Regions from separate parts of the Homo sapiens genome. Here region 2 is linked to region 1. Evidence: promoter capture Hi-C in 16 types of primary human blood cells and fetal thymus (Javierre and others, 2016). All regions are on one chromosome and are shown on one strand. The core of a region is centred on a gene start or on the middle of the fragment in contact, and the rest is flanking DNA. Distances in the headings are between cores, read along the strand shown. Region 1 holds the start of TREH (trehalase). Region 2 overlaps SCN4B (sodium voltage-gated channel beta subunit 4).

The links. Contacts are between HindIII fragments. The CHiCAGO score rates a contact against its expected background, and 5 or more counts as called.
Region 2: a contact is called between a fragment that was not itself captured here and the fragment with the promoter of TREH in region 1, in 2 of 17 cell types (non-activated CD4 T cells and naive CD4 T cells). The highest score is 5.3, in non-activated CD4 T cells.

Annotation. Positions count from the first base shown.
Region 1 is chr11:118,677,060-118,683,541 of GRCh38, forward strand. It overlaps TREH (trehalase), which reads right to left and starts at 2,591. Exons shown (of 15, transcript NM_007180.3): 1 at 2,480-2,591. The coding sequence starts at 2,568. RefSeq lists enhancers at 1,821-2,482, 2,483-3,142. The HindIII fragment of the contact is 8,736 bases long and covers 1-6,482 here.
Region 2 is chr11:118,136,978-118,140,318 of GRCh38, forward strand. It overlaps SCN4B (sodium voltage-gated channel beta subunit 4), which reads right to left. Exons shown (of 5, transcript NM_174934.4): 5 at 1-143. The coding sequence ends at 50. Among named protein-coding and RNA genes, the nearest start is that of SCN4B, 14 kb to the right of the region's middle. The HindIII fragment of the contact is 1,055 bases long and covers 724-1,778 here.

The sequences.
Region 1 (6,482 bases), core at 1,341-3,840:
GTCTTTGTTTTTCTGGGGCCTTGGGCCATGCCAGATATTTGATGCTAATAATGTGATTTGTGGCAGGGGCCTTTGGCCGCCCAGTATCAGTTTGAACTCTGGAGAGTGAGTAACTGAGGTCAGCCACACAGGTAGTCCACGCTTTCATCACTGACCTCCAATAAAAACACTGGACACCAAGACTCAGGTGAGCTTTTGTGATTGGCAATACTTCATGCGTGCTGTCACATGTTATTGCTGGAAAAATCAAGTCCTGTCCATATAAATCCACTGGGAGAGGAAAAACTGGAAGATTGAGATTATTTTCTCCTGGACTTGGCCCTAGAATATTTCACCTTTGATGGCTTTAACATGTATCTTTTCACTGTAAGAAACCATAATCAAGGCTGGGCACGGTGGTTCATGCCTGTAATCCCAGCACTTTGGGAGGCTGAGGCAGGCGGATCACAAGGACAAGAGATTGAGACCATTCTTGCCAACATGGCAACACCTCTGTCTCTACTAAAAATACAAAAATTAGCTGGGCGTGGTGGCAGGTGCCTGTAGTCCCAGCTACTGGGGAGGCTGAGGCAGGAGAATCGCTTGAACCCAGAAGGTGGAGGTTGCAGCGAGCCGAGATTGCACCACTGCACTCCAACCTGGCGACAGAGCGAGACTCTGTCTCAAAAAAAGAAAAAAAATGAAACCATAATCATGGTATAACCATTTGGAAGTGTTAGTGAATCACTGGCCTGAGGTTGGTCTTAGGGAACACCAGTAAAGTCATCTTCCCCTACATTTGGCAAACAGCCTAATGCTTGACAAAGCACTGGACCACCCAGCCTCTCTGAAGTCCTCATTACAATTGCTCAGGACAAAACCTATTAATTATCCCAGGTACACTTTTCCCCTTTATATTCCACAATTGTCATGGGCAAGCACTGTCAACTCTCCCTGTAACACACACCCTCTATTGAACCCCTTGTCTCTGTCTCTAGTCTAACCACTGGAACCCAAGCCCAAACCTTGTTGCCTGGAGCCCCGCTCTCCCCGGACCTGTTCCCACTCTGCCCCAATCACACAGGCCTTCGTCCCAATCCCTGAACAGTGCGTCAGGGCCTCTGCATGGCCCTTTCCATGCCTGGACTGTCCTCTCCCAGATCAGCTCAGCAATGGTTCCTGCCACAATTCTGCTTACACATCACCTCCTCAGAGACACCGTCCCTCCCCATCCTCTCTAACACACCCTCTGCTCACCCACACCAGCGGGCCCTAACTTCTCTCTACTTCAAACTGTGCTTCTGTTACTGTTTTGCTTCTATTATTATTATTATTATTATTTGAGATAGAGTTTTGCTCTTGTTGCCCCGACTGGAGTGCAATGGCATGATCTTGGCTCACTGCAACCTCCACATCCCAAGTTCAAGCGACTCTCCTGCCTCAGCCTCCCGAGTAGCTGGGATTACAGGCGTGCGCCACCATGCCCGGCTAATTTTGTATTTTTCATAGAGATGGGGTTTCACCATGTTGGCCAGGCTGGTCTCGAACTCCTGACCTCAGATGATAGCTCCCACCTTGGCCTCCCAAAGTGCTGGGATTACAGGCATGAGCCACCGTGCCCAGCTGTTTTTCTTCTATTATTATTGTTCTTGCAGGAGCTGGTAAAGTGGCTGATGTGGCCACAGCTCCATAAATCCATGTGGAACGAAGGGTGGACATCGCCTGAGTCCAGGAGACAGGACAGGGTCACTCATCTCTGTCCCTGGTGATGGAAACTCAGGCTCAGGAAAGAGCCTTGACCTGCCCTGGGTCACAGAGAGAATATGAGGGTCAGGGCTCAAGCCCAAGTGCTGTCTTCAGGCCCTTAGGCTGCCTCTCACACCCAGACTAGGAAGCTGGAGCAGAAAGTTTGCTAGAACAATCCTGAGAAGAGGCCTGCACAGTTCAAGGGGCAGCTTGGAGGAGGAGAGGAAGGGAGGGCGGGCTCTGGCCAGCAGGCTCTTGGACCTCAGGCCAGGCTCTGGCAGCTGCGTCTGGTATCAGGACTGCAGGTCCCGACAGGGGGCGGTGGCTCACGCTTGTATTCCCAGCACAGTCGCCAAGCCTAATGTCCCTTCCAACGGTGGAAAATTTTGGTAAAAATCAATGACAGGCTGGGCGTGGTGGTGCATGCCTGTGATTCCAGCTACTCAGGAGGCTGAGGCACGAGAATCTCTCGAACCCGGGAGGTCTAGGCTGCAGTGAGTGGAGATGGTGCCACTGTACTCCATCTGGACGACCGAGCAAGACTCTAACAACAACAACAAAAAAAACGGACTGCAGGTGCAGTGCCCAGCACAGAGCCTGCTACATAGGAATTCTCATTTTCTTCTCTTCCCTACTCTTTCCTTCCTTTATAATCTCTTCCTTTCCCTCTGAAGTACCGACCCCAGAGCTTGAGATCTCATCCCAGCCTCCCTCTTATTGCCATCCTCCCCTGCTGCCTTCCCCACACCCCTACCTCTCACAGGGTGGGGGTAGGGCCTCCTGGGACCCCAGTCCCAGCCCCAGCAGCAGTAGCAGGCACAGCTCCCAGGTCCTCCCTGGCATGGTGGCTGTGACTGTGACTGAATGAGCAAGCCCAGGCACCTTCGGCTTGCTGGGCACAGCCTGGCTCACCTGCCTGTCCAAGTCGGCCAAAGTCCAGCCTTTGAGGCGTGGCCACCTGAGGGGACGTGTGCTTGGTCTGTGTGTGGCCCGCTTGCCCCTCCTGCTCTCAGGGCACAGTGGCCACCTCCCTTGCTTCTACTTTGCCTCTTCTATTTCACAGTCTCAGCTGGTGCCAATGGCTCAGGCCCTTCCCTCAGAGCATGGTGGTGGGGGTGGGGAGTGGGCACCCAAAGGCCAGGGACACAGTCGAGGCCACACACCTGTAACCTGGATGCCAGGTTCCTTGGGTGGCCCCAAGACCACCAACCTCAGAGAGTTACCATTTCCCTTAACATTTCAAATGGAATGGCTCAAGATCCTGTCCCTGGTGTGGTGTGAAATTCAGGGCCTCTCACTGTTATCTGCAAGAGATACAGCGGAAGCACAGGACAGTAGAACCATTCTGTCTGGGGAGGACTAAGGGAGACCCACAATAGTGTGTCATTTGTAATGAGTCTTTTTTTTTTTTTTTTTGAGACTGAGTCTCACTCTGTCGCTAGGCTGGAGTGCAGTGGCGTGATCTCAGCTCACTGCCACCTCCGCCTCCCGGGTTCAAGCAATTCTCCTGCCTCAGCATCCTGAATAGCTGGGACTACAGGTGCCCGCCACCACGCCCAGCTAATTTTTGTATTTTTAGTAGAGACGGGGTTTCACTGTGTTGGCCAGGATGGTCTCAATCTCTTGACCTCATGATCTGCTCGCCTTGGCCTCCCAAAGTGCTGGGATTACAGGCGTGAGCCACTGCGCCAGTCCTAATGAGTCTTGATGACCGCATAGGAGTTTGCCAAGGGAAATGGGCTGGAGACCACTACAATGTATGCAGAGCATGTGAAGAGAAGAGCAAACCCCTCAGCCTAGCTGCAGAGAACTTGGTGTTCATGCAGGGAAGGGTTTTGAGATAGACTGGAGGAACATGTTGGCACCAGTCTGGAAATGGTCTTTGCCAAGCCAAGGAATGTAATTCCTTGTAATTCCCCAAAGTGGAACCAGCAGAGAAGTTTGTGAGCTTAAGAAGCAGATTCAGGCTGGGTGCAGTGGCTCATGCCTGTAATCCCACCACTTTGGGAGGCCGAGGCGGGTGGATCACCTGAGGTCAGGAGTTCAAGACCAGCCTGGCCAACATGGTGAAACCCCGTCTCTACAAAAATACAAAAATTAGCTGGGCATGATGGCGGGTACCTGTAATCCCAGCTCCTCAGGAGGCTGAGGTGGGAGAATCGCTTGAACTCGGGAGACAGAGGTTGTAGTGAGCCGAGATCATGCCACTGCACTCCAGCCTGGGCGACAGAGTAAGTCTCTGTCTCAAAAAAAAAAAAAAAAAAAAAAAAGCAGATTCGGTTACTTTAGGAGGCTCATCCCCTCAACATATGGAAGGTGAGCTGAAGGGACAGGGGACAGGGGGTGGGCAAGGCACATGGAGTTTAATGATAGGCATGACCTCTCCTGAAGGACTTAGGTTTGCAGTTAAGGATGTCAGTTGTGGCACCTGAGCAGTGTTTACTGCTATTAAAAAGAAAAACCTTAGACAAATTAAATTTAACCATTTATTCAAGCAAAGAAATGACTCATGAATCAGGCACCACTCTGAACTAGTAAAGGTTCAGATAGCTCCACCCAGTAATGTGGGCAGCTGGCATTGTTTTTTTTGTTTGCTTTGTTTTTTGAGACAGGGTCTCGCTCTGTTGCCCAGGCTGGCATGCAGTGGCTCCATCACAGCTCACTGCAGCCTTGATCTCTCAGGTTTAAGGGATTCTCCCACCTCAGCCTCCTGAGCAGCTGGGACCACAGGCACATGCCACCACGCCCAACTAATTTTTAAATTAAAAATAATTTTTTTTTTTTTAGAGATTGGGTCTCCCTATGTTGTCCAGGCTGGTGTGGAACTCCTGAGCTCAAGCAATCCTCCTGCCTCATCCTCCCAATGTATTGGGATTACAGGTGTGAGCCACCATGCCTGGTCAACAATTTTTAAGTGTACAATTCAATTTCCTTTTATTACATTCACAATGCTGTGCAACCACCCTTGCATTCTTTGGATAAATCTCACTTGGTCATGATGTCTAATCCTTTTAATAAACTGTTGGTTTTGGCTTGCGAGTATTTTTTTGAGGAATTTTGCATCAATATGTATAGAGCATATTTGACTGTAATTTTCTTTCCTTGTTTTGTTTTGTTTTTTTTTTTTTTTGGACACATAGTCTTGCTCCATCACCCAGCAGGCTGGAATACAGTGGCATGAACACAGCTCACCACAACCTCGACTTCCTGGGGCTCAAGTGGTCATCTGGCCTCAACCTTCTGAGTAGCCAGGACTACAGGTGCATGCCACCACGCCTGGGTAATTTTTAAATTTTTTTGTAGAGACTACATCTGACTGTGTCGCCCAGGCTGGTCTTGAACTCCTGGCCTCAAGTGATCCTCCCGCCTTGGCCTCCCAAAGTGTTTCTCCCCAAGTGTGAGCCACCATGCCCAGCCCTCTTGTGATGTCTTTATCTGGTTTTAATATCAGGGTAATGTTAGCCTCATAGCATGAGTTAGGAAATATGCCCCTCTTCTATTTGTGGAAGTGTTTGAGAAGGATTGTTAATTCTTTAAATGTTTGGTAGAATTTACCAATGAAGCCATCTGGTCCTGGACCGTATTAGGCAGAAACAATACATATATGGGGGATGGGGGTAGAGAGAGAGAGTTTGAGAGGTAGCTGGCAAGTCCAAAATCTCTAGGGTAGGCTGGCAGGCTGGAGAAACAGGGAAGAAGCTGCAGTTCAAGTCTGAAGGCAGCATGCTGAGAGAATTCCTTCTTCTTCTGGGGAGGTCAGTCTTTTTCAAATTAAAGTCTTCAACTGATTGGATAAGGCCCATCCAAGTTAGGGAGGGTAACCTGCTTTACTCAAAGTCTACAAATTTAAATGTTATTTTCATCTAAAAAATATCTTCACAGAAACATCTAGAATAATGCTTGACCAACTATCTGGATACCTTTGCCTAGCCATGTTGACACATAAAATTAAACATCTTTTTTTTTTTTTTTGAGATGGAGTCTCGCTGTGTTGCCCAGGCTGGAGTGCAGTGGCATGATCTTGGCTCACTGCAACCTCTGCCTCCTAGGTTTAAGCGATTCTCCTGCCTCAGCCTCGTGAATAGCTGGGATTACAGGCGCCCACCACCACACCCAGCTACTTTTTGTATTTTTAGTAGAGATGGGTTTTCACCGTGTTAGCCAGGCTGGTCTCGAACTCCTGGCCTCAGGTGATCCACCCGCCTTGGCCTCCCAAAGTGCTAGGATTACAGGCATGAGCCAACGTGCCCAGCCAATGTTCTTTAAAAAAACACATGACTCTACAGTGATTGTACTAACTTACATTCTCACCAACAGTATATGAGGGTTCCTTTTCTCCACATCCTCACCAGCATTTGTTATTGCCTGTCTTTTGGATAAAAGCCATTTTAACCGTAGTGAGATAATATCTCATTGTAGTTCTGATTTGCATGTCTCTGATGATCAGTTATGTAGCGCACCTTTTCATATACCTGTTTGCGACTTGTATGTCTTCTTTTAAGCAAGGTTTATAGTGATTCAGATCTTCTGCCCATTATGCAGACTGGCTTTGTTCTGGGGGAACACCTCATTATATTGCGCAGGCTGGTCTCAAACTCCTGGGCTCAAGCAATCCTCCCACCTTGGCCTCTCAAAGTGCTAGGATTACAGGTATGAGCCACCATGCCCAGCCAGTAGTGTTTTTTTTTTTTTTTTTTGAGACGAAGTCTTGCTCTATCACCCAGGCTGGAGTGCAATGGCATGATCTTGGCTCACTG
Region 2 (3,341 bases), core at 1-2,500, 540 kb before region 1:
TCATCATCAGAAAGGGGGCTCCCTGCAGCTGCTCAGCCCGAAGCAGGGCTCACACTTTTGAAGGTGGTTTCTCCTCTGCCTTGGAGCCAGGCAAGCCGTTCTCCGTGTTGTCATTCCCCGAGGAGCTCACGAGACACTCCTTCCTGGAGAGGGAGAGAGAAGGGACAGTGGTGAGGAGAGGAGCAAGAGTAGGGGGAGAATTGTGGCAGGAGCCGTGGGCCCTGCACCCAGCCCTGTGCCTCTCCCTGGCCTTCTACAGAGCTAAGGTAGCCAGAGGCCATGTCACCTAACCTCTCTGTACCTCAGTCCCCTCATTTGTGAAATAGAGGTAGGGATGACCTTCTGCGTGGGGTTGCTGGAAGGAGAAATGAGCACTTAGAACAGTGCCTGCCATGTAGAAAGTTCTCAACTGGCCAGGTGCGGTGGCTCACACCTGTAATCCCAGCACTTTGGGAGGCCGAGGCAGGCAGATCACTTGAGGTCAGGAGTTCGAGACCAGCCTGGCCAACATGGCAAAACCCCATCTCTACTAAAAATACAAAAATTAGCCAGGCGTGGTGGCAGGCGCCTATAGTCCCAGCTACTAGGGAGGCTGAGGCAGGAGAATCGCTTGAACCTGGGAGGCGGAGGTTGCAGTGAGCTGAGATCGTGCCACTGCACTCCAGCCTGGGCAACAGAGCGAGACTCTGTCTCAAACAAAGAAAAAAAGAAAGTTCTCAATAAAGCTTAGCTGTCACCTAGTTGTCTCAACATGGCAGGAAGCAAAGGGCACCAGGTGCTGTTCTCAGGGGTCAGTTCCCAGGCTGTGCCACGCCAGGGGGAGGGGTCCAGGCCAGCAAGGAGTATGCTGAGGACACAGAGTCCCTCTCCCCAGGGCCCCCCAGGCCTTCCTCCCTGAGCTCTCCGTGACTAGAGGTATTAAGGGAAGAACAGAGTCCATGGAAGGGGCAGAGCAGGCAGTGGGTTTGGCTTCAAGGGTGACAGGTCTAGGCAGAGTTTGGTGGGACGGAGCAGAAGACAGGAGGAAGGAGAGATGGTGAGATGGGAAGACACCTCCCGGGAGGCGTTCCACCCTGACCGCTCTGAGCTGGACATGCTCCAACTTCAGTGTGTCCCTCCTCCACAGCAGCGCCCAGGCTGGGCACACAGAACTCCCCAGGGAGCACCTGCATCCCTCTGAGCTTTCTGCTCATGAAAATGGCCAAGTTTTTCACAGCTGCTACAGCCAAACTACATCCTACCCTCACCCTGGGCTTGGGCAGCTGGGTTTGAGGCCTTTGGGAAGGACTGAATATTTTGTCCTCATTAATTTCATCTTGCAATACCTAGTTCCTAGCTCCAGCCTATCAAGATCTTCCTAGATCCCTTTTTCTTCCAACATAGTTACTAGGCTTCTGGAAGTTGATAAATGTGACATCCCTAGTGTACTTCAAATGTTAGTAATAACAATGAACAGGTGGAGCCCTGTGGAATACACTAAAGACCTCTATTCGGATGGATCCATCTCTCTCTCTCTGTCTCTCTCTCTTTCTTTCTTTCTGTCTCTGTACCTAAGGCATAGTTAACCCAGCCAATTACGACCCACCGAACTGTATTCCACGCAGTCCATAATTCTCTACTGAGAACCTACTGGGTACCAGGCACTGTGTCGGAAACGTGCACTCTCCTAGGGCATGTGACATTAAACAAGTGATTGTGACACACTGTGGTAAATAACAGGATGGGGGATGTAGGAAGGAGGGACCCAACCTAGGAAGCCTCCTCATAGGAGTCAGGGAAGCTTTTTGGAAGTATACCTTAAACTTCCAAGCTTCTTTGAAACCAAGAAAGATGAGCAGGAAAAGAGAGAGGGTAAATTCCAGACAGAGGAAACAGCACCCACGTTTCAGAATCAATGGTGAGATGTTGTCCAGTACCTCCCTGTTCTTGAGAAGCCACTGTCTCTGCTGTAATGCAGGCATTCCCCGCCACTCCAAGGACCTCCCTCAGGCTTCCCTACGGTCTGTCCCCTGCCCCCAGGCTCTTCCACCCAATCCCTCCGCCCACCATGGCCAGATCCTTTCTTCTGTGCTCTCTGATCGTGCCAGGGCCCTGCAAGCCCTCGCCAGCTCCCCTGCCGTCGGAAGTCAATCACAGCCTCGACTCCCAGGTCCCCAAGTGTCTGTCCCCAACCCCTTCTGCAGGCTTTTATTCTCCTCCCCACCACCTCACCATACAGCTCTCTCAACAAACAAAAGGCTTGTTCTCCAGACAAGCCCACTTCCCAGACTCTCTGCCTTGGCTCTCAGTGGTGCCTCCATCTGGAAGAATCTTCCCTTTACTCTCCCCAGGGCTTAAGTTATATTAATCTTGCAAGGCCTGCCACAAACACCCATTCAGCCAGAAATCCTTCCCAGAATTTCACCCTGCCCTGAACCCCCACAGCAGCATCGTATCAAACCTCTTTGCTGGCACTGATCCCCTCTACCTTGTATTACATTTATTTGTATACACATTTATTTGTATCTTGTCTTCTTTAGTTAAAGGCAGAATCTCATTCCTTCCATAATTTCCTATAGCATCTGGCACAGTGCCTCAAAAACAGCCACAAAATGAACAGATAAATGAATGAACTCTAGATATGCCCAGTGAGTCAGTAGAACATCCTGGCAATGGTTTAAGCTTTGAAGCCAAATTAGTCACAGTTCAAATCCCAGCTCTATCACTTACTAGCTGTGTGGCCTTGGGCAAGTCACTTCACTACTCTGAGCCTCACTTTGCTCAATTGTAAAATAATAATTATGGGTAGTGTATAAAATTGCCTGGTGGAATTCCTAACATATGGTAGGCATTTGATGAATGACAGGAAGTGGTATTTTCCAGAGCAATCTCCTGTTCTGCCAGTGCCTTATCAGGAGACATCTAGCATTCCTTTTTTTTTTTTCTTTTTTCTTTTTTTTTTTAAGAGACGAGCTCTTGCTAAGTTGCCCAGGCTGGACTCAAACTCCTGGGCTCAAAGCATCCTCCTGCCTCAGCCCCCCAGGGAGCTGGGACTTCAGGCACACACATCCAGCTTAGCATGTCTTGTTTTTGATGAACCCACTGTGGCTCTGAAGGACCACCGTTGTCTTTTCTAAGTGCTTTTAAACCATATATTGACAAATTTGTTCTCCATCCATTGATAGTAAGACTGGTTATGAAAAACAGAACCTAATTAAGCTCCACGCTTTTAGCCCCTCTCACGATCACCAAAACCCTCACAGCCTCTGGCCACAAGGCAGGCAGACAACCCTTGAGCTCTTCATCGACAACCCAGTTCTGGGGTCCTCCCCTGCTCCCCAGCCCCAGCGCTGCTACCTGTA